Regions from separate parts of the Homo sapiens genome. Here region 1 is linked to region 2. The links are contacts of gene promoters, found by promoter capture Hi-C in blood cells and fetal thymus (Javierre and others, 2016). All regions are on one chromosome and are shown on one strand. The core of a region is centred on a gene start or on the middle of the fragment in contact, and the rest is flanking DNA. Distances in the headings are between cores, read along the strand shown.

Region 1 (5,682 bases), core at 499-2,998, 690 kb after region 2:
GAGGGTGATGTGTGGGCACACAAGGGCAACACCCAGCCTTGCACTGCGACACCAGTCTGCAGATCCACTCTTGGGAATGTGTTTTTGTTTCAAGCTGGGTTGATTCTCTCTGTTCATTTCCCTTCTGTGGCCCATCAGCTCCGTGTTTCCTGTCTCTCAGCTCTCCCTGTTTGCCTAAGACGCACAATTATGTCCTGGATTCCACACAGGGCACATTTATGGGGACTCATAGGCTGCCTGAGTCACGGAGGAGCCAGTCCCGTATGAAAATCAGGGCCCTCGACATCGGGCAGATATGCCAGGCTTTAGGGTGCTCAGCTTGCAGGCTCCTGGACCCCTCCGTCCCACCACTCTCTCCACCTTTTCCCATCCCCTCTGGGCCGGGGACACCTCCCAGGTGCTCTGGAGTCCTGGGCAGCACACTGGCCAAGGAGCTGTTCTGTGCACATTTCCTCGGGAGCCAGGATGACTGACCCTTGCTGTGGGCTTGCTCTATGTTCCGGAGGAAGCGAGATCAAATGTCCATGTTAGCTGTGGTCCCTTGGCAGAGGCTCTAATCAGCCCTGCATGGCTACTGCCAAGCAGGGAAAGGAAATGCGTCCCCAGCAGGGAGAGCCCTTTAAGCCATGGTCAGTCGTAAGCACAAGGCTGGAGTCAGGTCTTGCCTCTCCATAAGGAAATCTGTGCAGTGAGGGAGCTCCTCACCCCAGTTCCACTTGTGAGGAGGAAGGAGGGGATGAGAAAGGTGAGAACAGGAGTCCCAGGATGCCAGAGGGAAGAAGTATGGTCCCAAGGTTAAGAAGGAGCTATGGGTCAGGCCGCCCTGCCCAAATCCCCACCCTGCCATTGCTGGCTTCTCCTTCCTCAGTCTGCTCATCTGCAGAGTGGAGGTGATACCGGCACCCACCTCCCGGGCTCTTTCTGAGGGTTCCATGGAGAAGAGAGCCTGCCACGTGGTGAGCACTGAGTAAAAGGTAGCTATGATGACGATTGCCTTTTTCCCGATGTTTATCAAACCTGGGTACATGCATGGATCTCTCTGGAGGAAACCATTCCTCTTGAACCCTAGAGAATATCTCTGAAGCCCTCAGAGTTCAGTTTATGGAGTAATGATTAAGCAAAGGCCTTTATTGAGGAAGATCGTTTTCCCTGGTAAATGACCTCTGCGAAAGTTTTTGCCTCTAGAGCTGGCAGGATGTATTTTAGACTCGTTGAATAAAAACACAAAATTTCGTTCTCAGAAACTTGCAGGTCCTGAGGAATTTGCAAAGCTTCCTTAAACCTGGTTGGGGAGAGAAACGGGTTGGGGGAAAATGCTGGGCTGTAGGGCAGAGATTGGACAGGCATACTTGGGGGTCTGGCTTCTGGGTCTGCTGGGATTCACTGGACGTCCCCTGATGTGGTTCACAGGGCAGAGTACCCTCCTTCCAGCTCTCTGGGGCTGCTTCCTTGCAACCACCTGCTCCCTTCCATCCTCCCGAAGTTGTAACAAAGTAACCCCTGGGGAGACGGTGTTGCTGCCACCTGGTGGCCAGTTCTGCACACTGCAGGCTCCCCTGTCCTCGGGGACCCCAGGAGGCTGTACCTGTGACCCCGCAGAACCGCACGGGCTGGGTCGTTTTAGGGGCACTCATCACAGTGAATTGGGGATGGGTCCCTTCCCATGCGTGTCTGTGCTACCAGTGAGCTGGTGCAGGAGAGTCCCGTGCCCAGGGAGCCCCAGGCCGGCAGGCAGGTGGACCCTCCTCCCTCCTCCCTCCTCCCTCCTCCATCCAGGGTGCCCACCTCCAGGAGCTTCTGCCGTCCCCAAGTTGTCTCTCCCTGTCCTCAATCCCCCTGGTCGCTCCGCTCCAGGTACCCTCTTCGGGGCAGCCCAGATGCGCTGGAGTCTCCAAGACACCCCTCCTGGCCTCATCCTCCTGCCTGTCGGACACCACACACTCATCCTTGGTCTCTGTTTCCCTTTGATAAAACCCTTTCCTTTCCTTCCATCTTTCTCCAGAAGCAAAAGAGGGCAGGGTTCTGAATTGTGACTGCCTGTTCGGTGCCTGATGACATTGTCAACACCGAGGTCAACCCATGGAGAAAGATTCTGCTAAGGCCTGGGATGCTTAGCACTTGGTGGACTTGACCTTGTTTATTTCCTTACAAGGTGCCTGGGAAAGAGCATCTTTAGGGGCTTCACAGATGAAGAGCAGGGCCTCTAAGGGTCAAGTGAAGCTTAGTGGGCCCTGGAGCCAGGATCTTCCCAGCACTGTCTGCACGGCACTCAGGTGGGTCACAGCTGAAAGCGCACCGGGATGCTGGAGGCTGAATCCCTCGCAGGGCCGGTAAAATCCCAGACTGCTGCACCCACAGCCAGAGTTTCTGACTCAGCAGGTGTGGGGCGGAGGCTGCAGAGTTGGCCTGTCAACCTGGCTGCTGTTGCTGTCCCAGGATCCCACGCTGAGAACCGCTGATACAGGTTGCTGGATCTCACCTCTGGCTGGGGTTGGAGTCACCTGGGGAGACATGAACATGCAGAGGTCTGGGTCCCCACCTGGGGAGGCAATGCCGCCGTCAGTGGCGTGGTCAGGCACCAGGAATTTTAAAAGCTTGTCAGGAAATTCCAATGTGCAGCCAAGGTTGGGAATCACTAAGTAGCTCACCCCTTTCATCTGGGGGAAACTGAAGCCCCAGGAGAGAAACAGATACCCTTGGGTCACAGGCAGAGTCAGCCCTCTTGGGGCAGGGTCTTGGGTTGGTGCTGAGGCACCTTGGGCGTGGTTTGGGCAGGGGTGCACCTGTGTGCATGGCCATGCCAGGACCCTAAACGGACAGAGAGCAGGGCTCAGGGGTGGGGAGGTGGGGGCATCCAAGGAGTGTCCTGCTGTGTCCTCCAACTGCACCTTGCCCAGCCCCCGTCTCAGAATACACAAAAGGCAAAGGTCAAGGCCACGTTCCCCAGGTAGGATTCAGGCAGGACATCAAAGCCTGAGGCAAGTGAGCCTAAGATCCACTGTGTGGTCCCAGGTTGACCCTGACTTTGTCCACCACCTTGGCCAGGTTCTGTCCAGCGGCCTCAGGGTCCCCTTTGTTCCTGGGTTAGGCCATTCTTGCATTGTTATAAAGAAATGCCTGGGGCTGGGGAATTTACCAAGAAGGGAAGTTTAAATTGGCTCGCAGTTCTGCAGGCTTCACAGGAAGCATGATGCCGGCATCCGTTTGGCTTCTGGGGAGGCATTGGGAAGCTTTTACTCATGGCAGAAGGTGAAGGGGGAGCAGGAGTCTCACATAGTGAGAACAAGAGCCAGTTGAGGAGGTGCCAGACACTTATTTTTTTTTGATACAGAGTGCTGCTCTGTCACCTGGGCTGGAGTGTAGTGGCATGACCGTGGCTCACTGCAGCCTCCACCTCCTGGGCTCAAGTGAGTGATCCTTCCACCTCAGCCTCCCCAGTAGCTGGGACTACAGGCATGCACCACCATGCTTGGCTAATTTTTGTATTTTTGTATTTTTTTTTGGTGGAGACAGGGTTTTGCCATGTTGCCCAGGCTGTTCTCAAATTCCTGCGCTCAAGTAATCCACCTGTCTTGGCCTCCCAAGTGCTGGGATTACAGGAGTGAGCCACCGCACCTGGCTACCGCACACTGACAAACAACCAGATCTCGGGAGATCTCACTACCATGAGGACGGCACCAAACCATTCAGGAGGGATCCACCTCCATGACCAAACACCTCCCACCAGGCCCCACCTCCAACATTGGGGATTACATTTTAACATGGATTCTGGCAGGGACAGATACTTGACAACACCAGTTACCATGATGGCATGGAACCCCGGGAAGCCCACGGTGGAGAGAGTGGATGGGCTGCCCAATGTCAGGCTCGGAACACTCTCCCACCAGAGCTGGTGAGAGACCGGGGCCACCCAGACCCCACATGGAGCCTGCAGTGGGGTGTGGGCAGCAAGTTCTGCCTGACAGACGCCATGCCTGCCCCGCACTCTGGGCTGGTGCGGCACGGGCTTAGGTGGAGCGCGTGAGCCTTCTTCGTGGAAAGTTGCTGAGCTGGCCAAGCGAGGCTGGGTATTATCTAGTGAGTGATACTCCCATTAGCGAAAAAGAGGAAGAGCTTCCAAAAAGAATGAGATAAATGGCTCCATGCCAGAACGTTCCTCTCACCCTAAGTGTAAATATTGTAAATAAGCACACCGTGCAATCCATCCATCAATGCGAGTGAATTAGCCACCGAGAGATGCACACTCCTGGGGGCGGGTGTGCAGACCCTCTCGGCCTGGCATACGTCCCACCCCAGCTCTGAGCTTTCAGAAGGAGGGGGCAGCTTTTGCTGAGGTTGGAGACGGCAGGTTTAAGTGATGTTATCCTAATGAAGGGAAAGAGATGATTTAATGAGGTGTTTTTTATGCTCCCAGCTACAATACATCTCTGGTGACGAGCACCGAGTGCTGAGTGCTATCGTGGTTCTTCCTGCCCCTTAAATTAGGTGGCACAGTTCCTGGCTTGTCAGGAGAAAAGTGCGATTCTTTCTTTCCAGGGGAGGGGGGGAGAGTGAATGATGAGCAGATTCCTGACAACACAGGGACCCTGCGAGTACCCAAGTCATCTGAGTCCCTCATTTGCCATCTCCCTGTGTCATGGGGGCTGGGCTCTGCCCGGGGATGGGGCTTGTTGTCCTTGGTGGTGTTGCGGGACAAGCTGGTCACCTTAGCCAGGGTGGGGGAGGCAGCTCTCTTCAGCACTCGGCCCCGCTCTGGGTGTGGGGGCGATTCCTTACAGCACAAGCCGTCTCGGTGCTCTGGAAGCAGAAGTGTCTCTCTCAGGTGAGACTTGCTCCCTCCTCCCCATTGATCTCACCTTCCGCTATCCACCCATTCCCAAGGCTCCTTGGAGGCCAGACACCTGGAGCTCCCTCTTGCACCACAAGCAACGTGGTCAGCAAGCCTAGGACGCCACCTCCTGCCCTGCCCTCCTCTCTCTTGGTTCATGTTGGTGGTTGCTGCATTTCTCTGGCCAGCATAGGTGCTGTGTGTGGGCAGGGCTGGGCCCTGATCCTCCTGGCTCCGTGGCAGGCATGGGCATAGAGCTTCGGGCTGGGGGAGTGTTTGTGGGATGAATAGAGGATGCTGGTCCAGATCCATCCCATGGCTGATGCTCCCATCCTGGACCTGGTGGGCACGAGAGGTGCTCACACCCATTATCCCCTGTGGTTCTTCTCAAACACACCGAGCCATGGGGCAAAGTCTCCCCGATTGAACCTGGGGGAGTCTGACAGACCCACGTCCTCAACCTTCCTTGTGCATTACCAGATCCTTGGCCAAGAGGACAGAGCCTGGAATCTGAGTCCACTGGCGCAGGATGTGGAAGTAAACATGAGCCCCAGGTCTTGGAAAGAAGCCTGGCCTACAGGCCTGACCCCAGCTGACCCCAGGTCCAGGCCCCACGATGCAGGCTGCTTTGCCCTCAGGTGAGAGCCGCCCGGATGACAGCATGGGTGTCTGCTAGCTAATCAAGCTATTATGAGAATTCAGCAAGAGCCCTAAGGATTTGATTTAGTAAATTTCATCCTACTGGGTCTATTATCAATATCCTATCACACTCCAGAGTGCACATGACAAAACCCAAATTATAATTGGGTTAACATTGTAACATCTTAAGCAATAATAAATTAACCCTCATTTAA
Region 2 (5,444 bases), core at 15-2,514:
CTGAGGAGAGGGTGCTGCTCTGCTAGGGCTGGTGTCTCTGAGGAGAAAACGAGGCTGGTTCTGCAAATGTTGGAATAAGTGCAGACTGGATTCCACTGCTGCTTCCAGAATGTTCCAACTGCCACCTCCAGGATAAAGAAGCAAGAGTGGATGACACCAGACAGGACAGGAGCAAGCAGGAAGCAAAGCCCCCTATTGATAGAGCCAAACCGGGATCAGCTGGAAAGCAGAAGTGTTTGCAGAGGCCCAGCCTGATCATTATAGAGCCAAGAACAGCAGCTGGCTTTGGAGCTTGGTCAACCGGCTTGAGGCCTGAGTTGAAAGCTAGACCCATCAGCACAGTCTCTTCTGGTGATTGGACTTTTGCTAGGTGAGTACACTGAAGCCAGGTAAAGGGAGTGGAGAGTGTGTGTGCCACTGAGTGATTTACAATTCAGGATCCTGGAATATAATTCCGTGAGGACGCAGCGGGTGACTGGGTGCAAAGTAGCCCAGTTCAAGGGACCTGTGGGCCTGGGGATGAGGACCTTTGCTTCTCCACATGCGGTCCATGGACTCGCAGCATCAGCATCGTCTGAGAGCTTGTGAGAAATGCAGAATTTCAGGCCACTGAGACCGCTGGAATTGGAATCTGCATTTTCCAGATCTCCTGGTGGTCCTCAACTACTTACTGGTTTGGGATGGGAAACTAGAAGGCTTGGGCTGGGAAACTAGGGAGTGGTGATCAGCGAGGGGGCGGCCTGGCTACAGCAAAAAGGACAGGCACTGGGAGACAGCCCCTGGGCATGAGCTTCCAAGCTGGGGCTTTTTGAGGAAGCCATAGTGGTCTGGCATTGGGACCTCTGAACGAAATTTCCCGGTGGCTACAAGGAATTTTCCCACTTCCCCAAATTAGTAGATTCGATTTCCATCCCACTAGCTGGTAATTTACAGTATAGTGAATTTCCTTATTTCTTTTTTCTTCCCAAGACTTTCAAAAAGTAAAGCCAACCCCTTTATTTATCTTTGGGCTCGTCCAGTCTGGCTTCCCCCCTCCGATCGTTCGCAGTGGGACAGCCCGCCGGGCCTCCTTCCTTCCCCAGAAACCCTCCAGGCCTGGGAGAGGACGCGTTTTGCATTCAGGAAAAACCAATCGCTCCCCTATCGTACATAACCAAGAGAAAAGGTGGCGGACGAGGGGCGTGGCAAAGTGATTAGTGCGGCCTGGACCCTGCGTGCCTTGCGCGCTGCGGGCTCTTTGCGTCTGCGTAGTTCGCTCACCTCCCTTTCTAACTCCGCTGCCGCCATGGCTCCTGTGGTTAGTATGGCTCCGCGTGAGGCCTCGGCTCCAGGGGAGGCACGTGGGCCTCGCCGAGCCCGGCATCTACCCAGGCTCGCTGGGGACGGCGCCCTGCAGCGTCCTGCTGGGGTGGGCTGGCAGGTCGGCCGGAGCGGGCCAGAGCCCCTGCCGATCCCAGCACGTTGTAGGCGGAGGAGGCCGCGGCCCGAGGCTCGTGAGGGAGATCCGGGAGGTCTCGGAGGCCCGGGGCCCCAGCTAGGGGCTAGCGGGGAGCTGGAGCCTGGAGACTGCGGTCTGGGCCGGCCACTGGTCCTCGGACCCCGGCCGGGGGCCTGATTACCTGGGTGGAGGGCGGGGAAGAAGAACGGGACCTGCTACCCTGGGGAGCCGCGCATTCGGAAGTCCACGGCCAAGACTCGGGGACGAATCCGCGGAAGGGCGGCTTGGTCGGCGTGCTTTCGGAGAGGAGGCCTGGGTTTGAGGAGCTTTTTAGCGTCCCCAGAGGAAATTAGTTTATCAGGGCGCACTGTACAGACCCAAACGGGTGTTGCAGTGGTGTAGGGAGAAGGCTCTCATTGCATTCTCCTTTAGCTATGCTGGGACTGGGCTGTGCGGCGCCCTCCTCCTAGGTTATTTGAGAAAGTTGTTTTTCCGTGTTCTTCGTCCCAAGATCCTACTTTTCCTCTTTTGTTGGGACTCCCTGGTTAACATTTCCGGTTCTTCTGCTCTTTCTGTCTGGTTGGGCTTTTGAATGCCTTTTGGTTTAAAACCTTGATGGAGAAGTATCAAGCCCGTTGTGGGTAGGTCTCTTGATTGATTGTGTGTGTTCGGAATAGATCTTAAAGTACCCCTCTTAGATTATTACTGCGAAGAGACGTTGTAAAAAATAAATCAGTGATTTTTGTAGTGGCCAAATGTTTGAAAAGTTGATCCAGTTAACACAAGTTTTAGATGAAGTTCTTTTAAACATGAAGGGAGGTAAGATGTGTTTTTGGAAAAGTCTATTTAGTTCTGCAGAGCTTTTAAACGTGAAAGTACAGGTTGGTACGATGCACAAGTGCATTAATGGTGTCAAGTTTGTAGAGAGATAAGATTAACACAAGCTTCTTCGTAAGAGTGAAGAAACTGGAACCTTGTAGGATGTGCTTTGCCGGGTGGTTTGGAAGTACTAATGCATAGATGAAGCGAATCAAAATGTCAGAAGTTCTTGACGGTAGTGTTGTAATAAGATTCTAGGTTTTAGCCTTAACCTTGTCCAAGCTGGAGTGGACAGGCACCTAGAATACTTTGCAACTCCCTTCATGAGAAGGTGGATGAGACAGGATTAAGGGAGATGAGCTAAGACGGATCAGGACCCTACTCTGAACATGTAGGACAAGGATTGATTTCATATGAAAATTGTGGGTATGCAAGGCATTTTGTATGCCTGCACTCTAATTTTGGAAAAATAGTATTTTTTTGAAATTGGGAATGTTAGGGCAAACAAAAGGAAGTGTTCATTTTATTGTGGTTCATAAACTAAGAGACCTTCATGCCTGTAGAGATTGGGGAGACTGGAAAGTTTGAGTGAGTCAAGAGTGCTAGAATGATTTCCCCATCAAAAGGGCATGACCCCAGGCCCCAAGCTTGTACAGCAGCATCTGCCCCATTATACCTCTGGCACTCAGGCAGTGATGCCTCTTGGCCCTCTGGCAAAGGGAGCACACTTCCGTTAGTTTTGTATTTGTATGGACTTTTATACCTATGACGTTTCTGGTTCTGTTAATCTTGTTTTTCCGACTGACTGAAACTTCATCTCTGTTATCATTTGTGTATTTTCTTAGAAAAAGCTTGTGGTGAAGGGGGGCAAAAAAAAGAAGCAAGTTCTGAAGTTCACTCTTGATTGCACCCACCCTGTAGAAGATGGAATCATGGATGCTGCCAATTTTGTAAGTTACATCCTTATTGCCACTCGGGTGGTCACGAACATTTTGAGATACTGTTGAGAAAACCTACTGGGGTACATTTCTGTTTTCAGGCTTATAGGCAGCTTCACAGGTCTGGCTGTATCATCTCACCCTGGGAATGTGGGCAGATTACTTGTTTGTTTCCAAGTCTTGTTTCTTCTTGTGTGTGCAACAGTTGTGAGGAGTAAAAGGAGATGGGCTTAGAATAAGCAAGAAGGGCTCTAGCACAGAGGTGTTAGAGGACTATCTTGTTTTTCTCCTTTAGTTTCCACAAATGATTTTACTTAAAAGTTACCCAGAAACAAGCCAGGCACGGTGGCTCACGCCCGTAATCCCAACACTTTAGGAGGCTGAGGCGGGCAGATCATGAGGTCAGGAGTTCGAGACCAGTCTGGCCAACATAGTGAAACCCCGTCTCCACTAAAAATACAAAAAAATTAGCTGGGTGTGGTGGTGTGCACCTGTAATCCCAGCTACTCGGGAGGCTGCAGTAGAAGAATCGCGTGAACACGGGAGGCGGAGGTGGCAGTGAGCAGAGATCGCACCATTGCACTCCATCCTGGGAGATAGTGCGAGACTCCGTCTCAAAAACAAAACAAAAAAAGTTACTGAGAAACAGACAAATTTCACTGGGTCCATGGCATCCCCCTTGCTGTTTGGTGTGTTTAAGCATAAGTGAGGGACCCTGATCCTGACTATGGGCTGCCTCTGTCCTGGGTCTCACTGCTTTGATGTGGAGCTTTGGACAGGTGGCAGCAGTTCCCGAAGCTTTTCTATATTATGAAGCATCTGAGCTTCAGTGTTTAAAGTACCCTGCTTGCTGAATTGTAATTGGAGCTTTTTTTTTTTTCTTCAGATCTTGCTCTGTGCTGATTTTTTGCCCCTGTATTTGGCCCATTCCCCAATATTCCTCTATCCTATTGCAATCTAGAAATATTAAATAATCCTTCCGCCACATTTTGACTCAGCAGTTTGGTTTTGACATTTTATTCTTTTTCCTCTAATAGCCATGTTTGGGGGATTCAGACTTCGTATTTGTGTGTAGAAGTCTCCTAAATTTGCATTTGCTCTAAATTCTCCAGAAGGTTGAACTATTGCCAGGATCAGTATCATTACAACAAAAATAATTTTTAAACACAAAATAATTATGGTCACGAATTATCCAGAATGGAATTTAGGTAACCTCTTATAGTTTATTGCCTTTATGTAGATGCTGTTTGCATCTGTGTCCTTCAAGAAATCCCCTATTTCCTTAGTTCTTTCTCTATCCAGTGACTTCTGGCTTTTCTGTGGCCTCCTCTTTTTCAACTTTGGTGTCTTCCAGTTTGGTATTCACATGGTGGCCCTGTTCTGGCATTATTCCTGCCTCCCTCCCTCTGAGCCATTCCCTCAGCCCACTCATCTGTTTGTGTGATTGTCTTTCCTTCTGGAAGCCTCCTTAGGATAGAAAACTTAAGTCATTTATGAATCTTGAGATGCAGAATTCAAGATTTCTGACCTAATCACTCTGTGCCCCATCTATGGTTAATGTATACTTTTTGTTTATTTTATTTTATTTACTTTGTTTTTTGAGACCAAGTTTTGCTCTTGTTGCCCAGGCTGGAGTGCAATGGTGCAGTCTCGGCTCACCACAATCTCCGTTTCCCTGGTTCAAGCCATTCTGGTGTCTCAGCCTCCCGAGTAGCTGGGATTATAGGCGCCTGCCACCACGCCTGGCTAATTTTTGTATTATTAGTAGAGATGGGGTTCCTCCATGTTGGTCAGGCTGGTCTCGAACCCCTGACTTTAGGTGATCCACCCACCTCGGCCTCCCAAAGTGCTGGGATTACAGGCATGAGCCACTGCGCCTGGCCATTTTATTTTATTTTTATTTATTTATTTTTGAGGTGGAATCTCACTCTGTCACCCAGGCTGGAGTGCAATGGTGTGATCTTGGCTCACTGCAACCTCCACCTTCCAGGTTTAAGTGATTCTCTTTCTCAGCCTCCCGAGTAGCTGAGATTACAGGCGTGTGCCACCATGCCCACCTAATTTGTGTATTTTTGTGGTAGAGACGGCGCTTCACCATGTTGGCCAGGTTGGTCTTGAACTCCTGACCTCAGGTGATTTGCCAGCCTCGGCCTCCCAAAGTATCGGGATTACAAGCATGAACCGCTGTGCCCAGCCAAATTTTTTTTTTTTTTTTTTGAGACGGAGTCTTGCTCTTTGTCACCCAGGCT

Evidence for each region. The method cuts DNA at HindIII sites, captures the fragments that hold promoters and counts their contacts. A CHiCAGO score of 5 or more calls a contact.
Region 1: a fragment that was not itself captured here is called in contact with the fragment with the promoter of RPL22 in region 2 in 4 of 17 cell types (naive B cells, total B cells, naive CD8 T cells and 1 more); the score reaches 11.9 in naive B cells.

What each region holds. Positions count from the first base shown.
Region 1 is chr1:5,505,904-5,511,585 of GRCh38, reverse strand. No RefSeq gene overlaps it. Among named protein-coding and RNA genes, the nearest start is that of MIR4689, 350 kb to the left of the region's middle. The HindIII fragment of the contact is 949 bases long and covers 1,274-2,222 here.
Region 2 is chr1:6,195,415-6,200,858 of GRCh38, reverse strand. It overlaps RPL22 (ribosomal protein L22), which reads left to right and starts at 1,264. Exons shown (of 4, transcript NM_000983.4): 1 at 1,264-1,297; 2 at 3,103-3,207. The coding sequence starts at 1,286. RefSeq lists a silencer at 1,373-1,512. The HindIII fragment of the contact is 15,793 bases long and covers 1-2,384 here.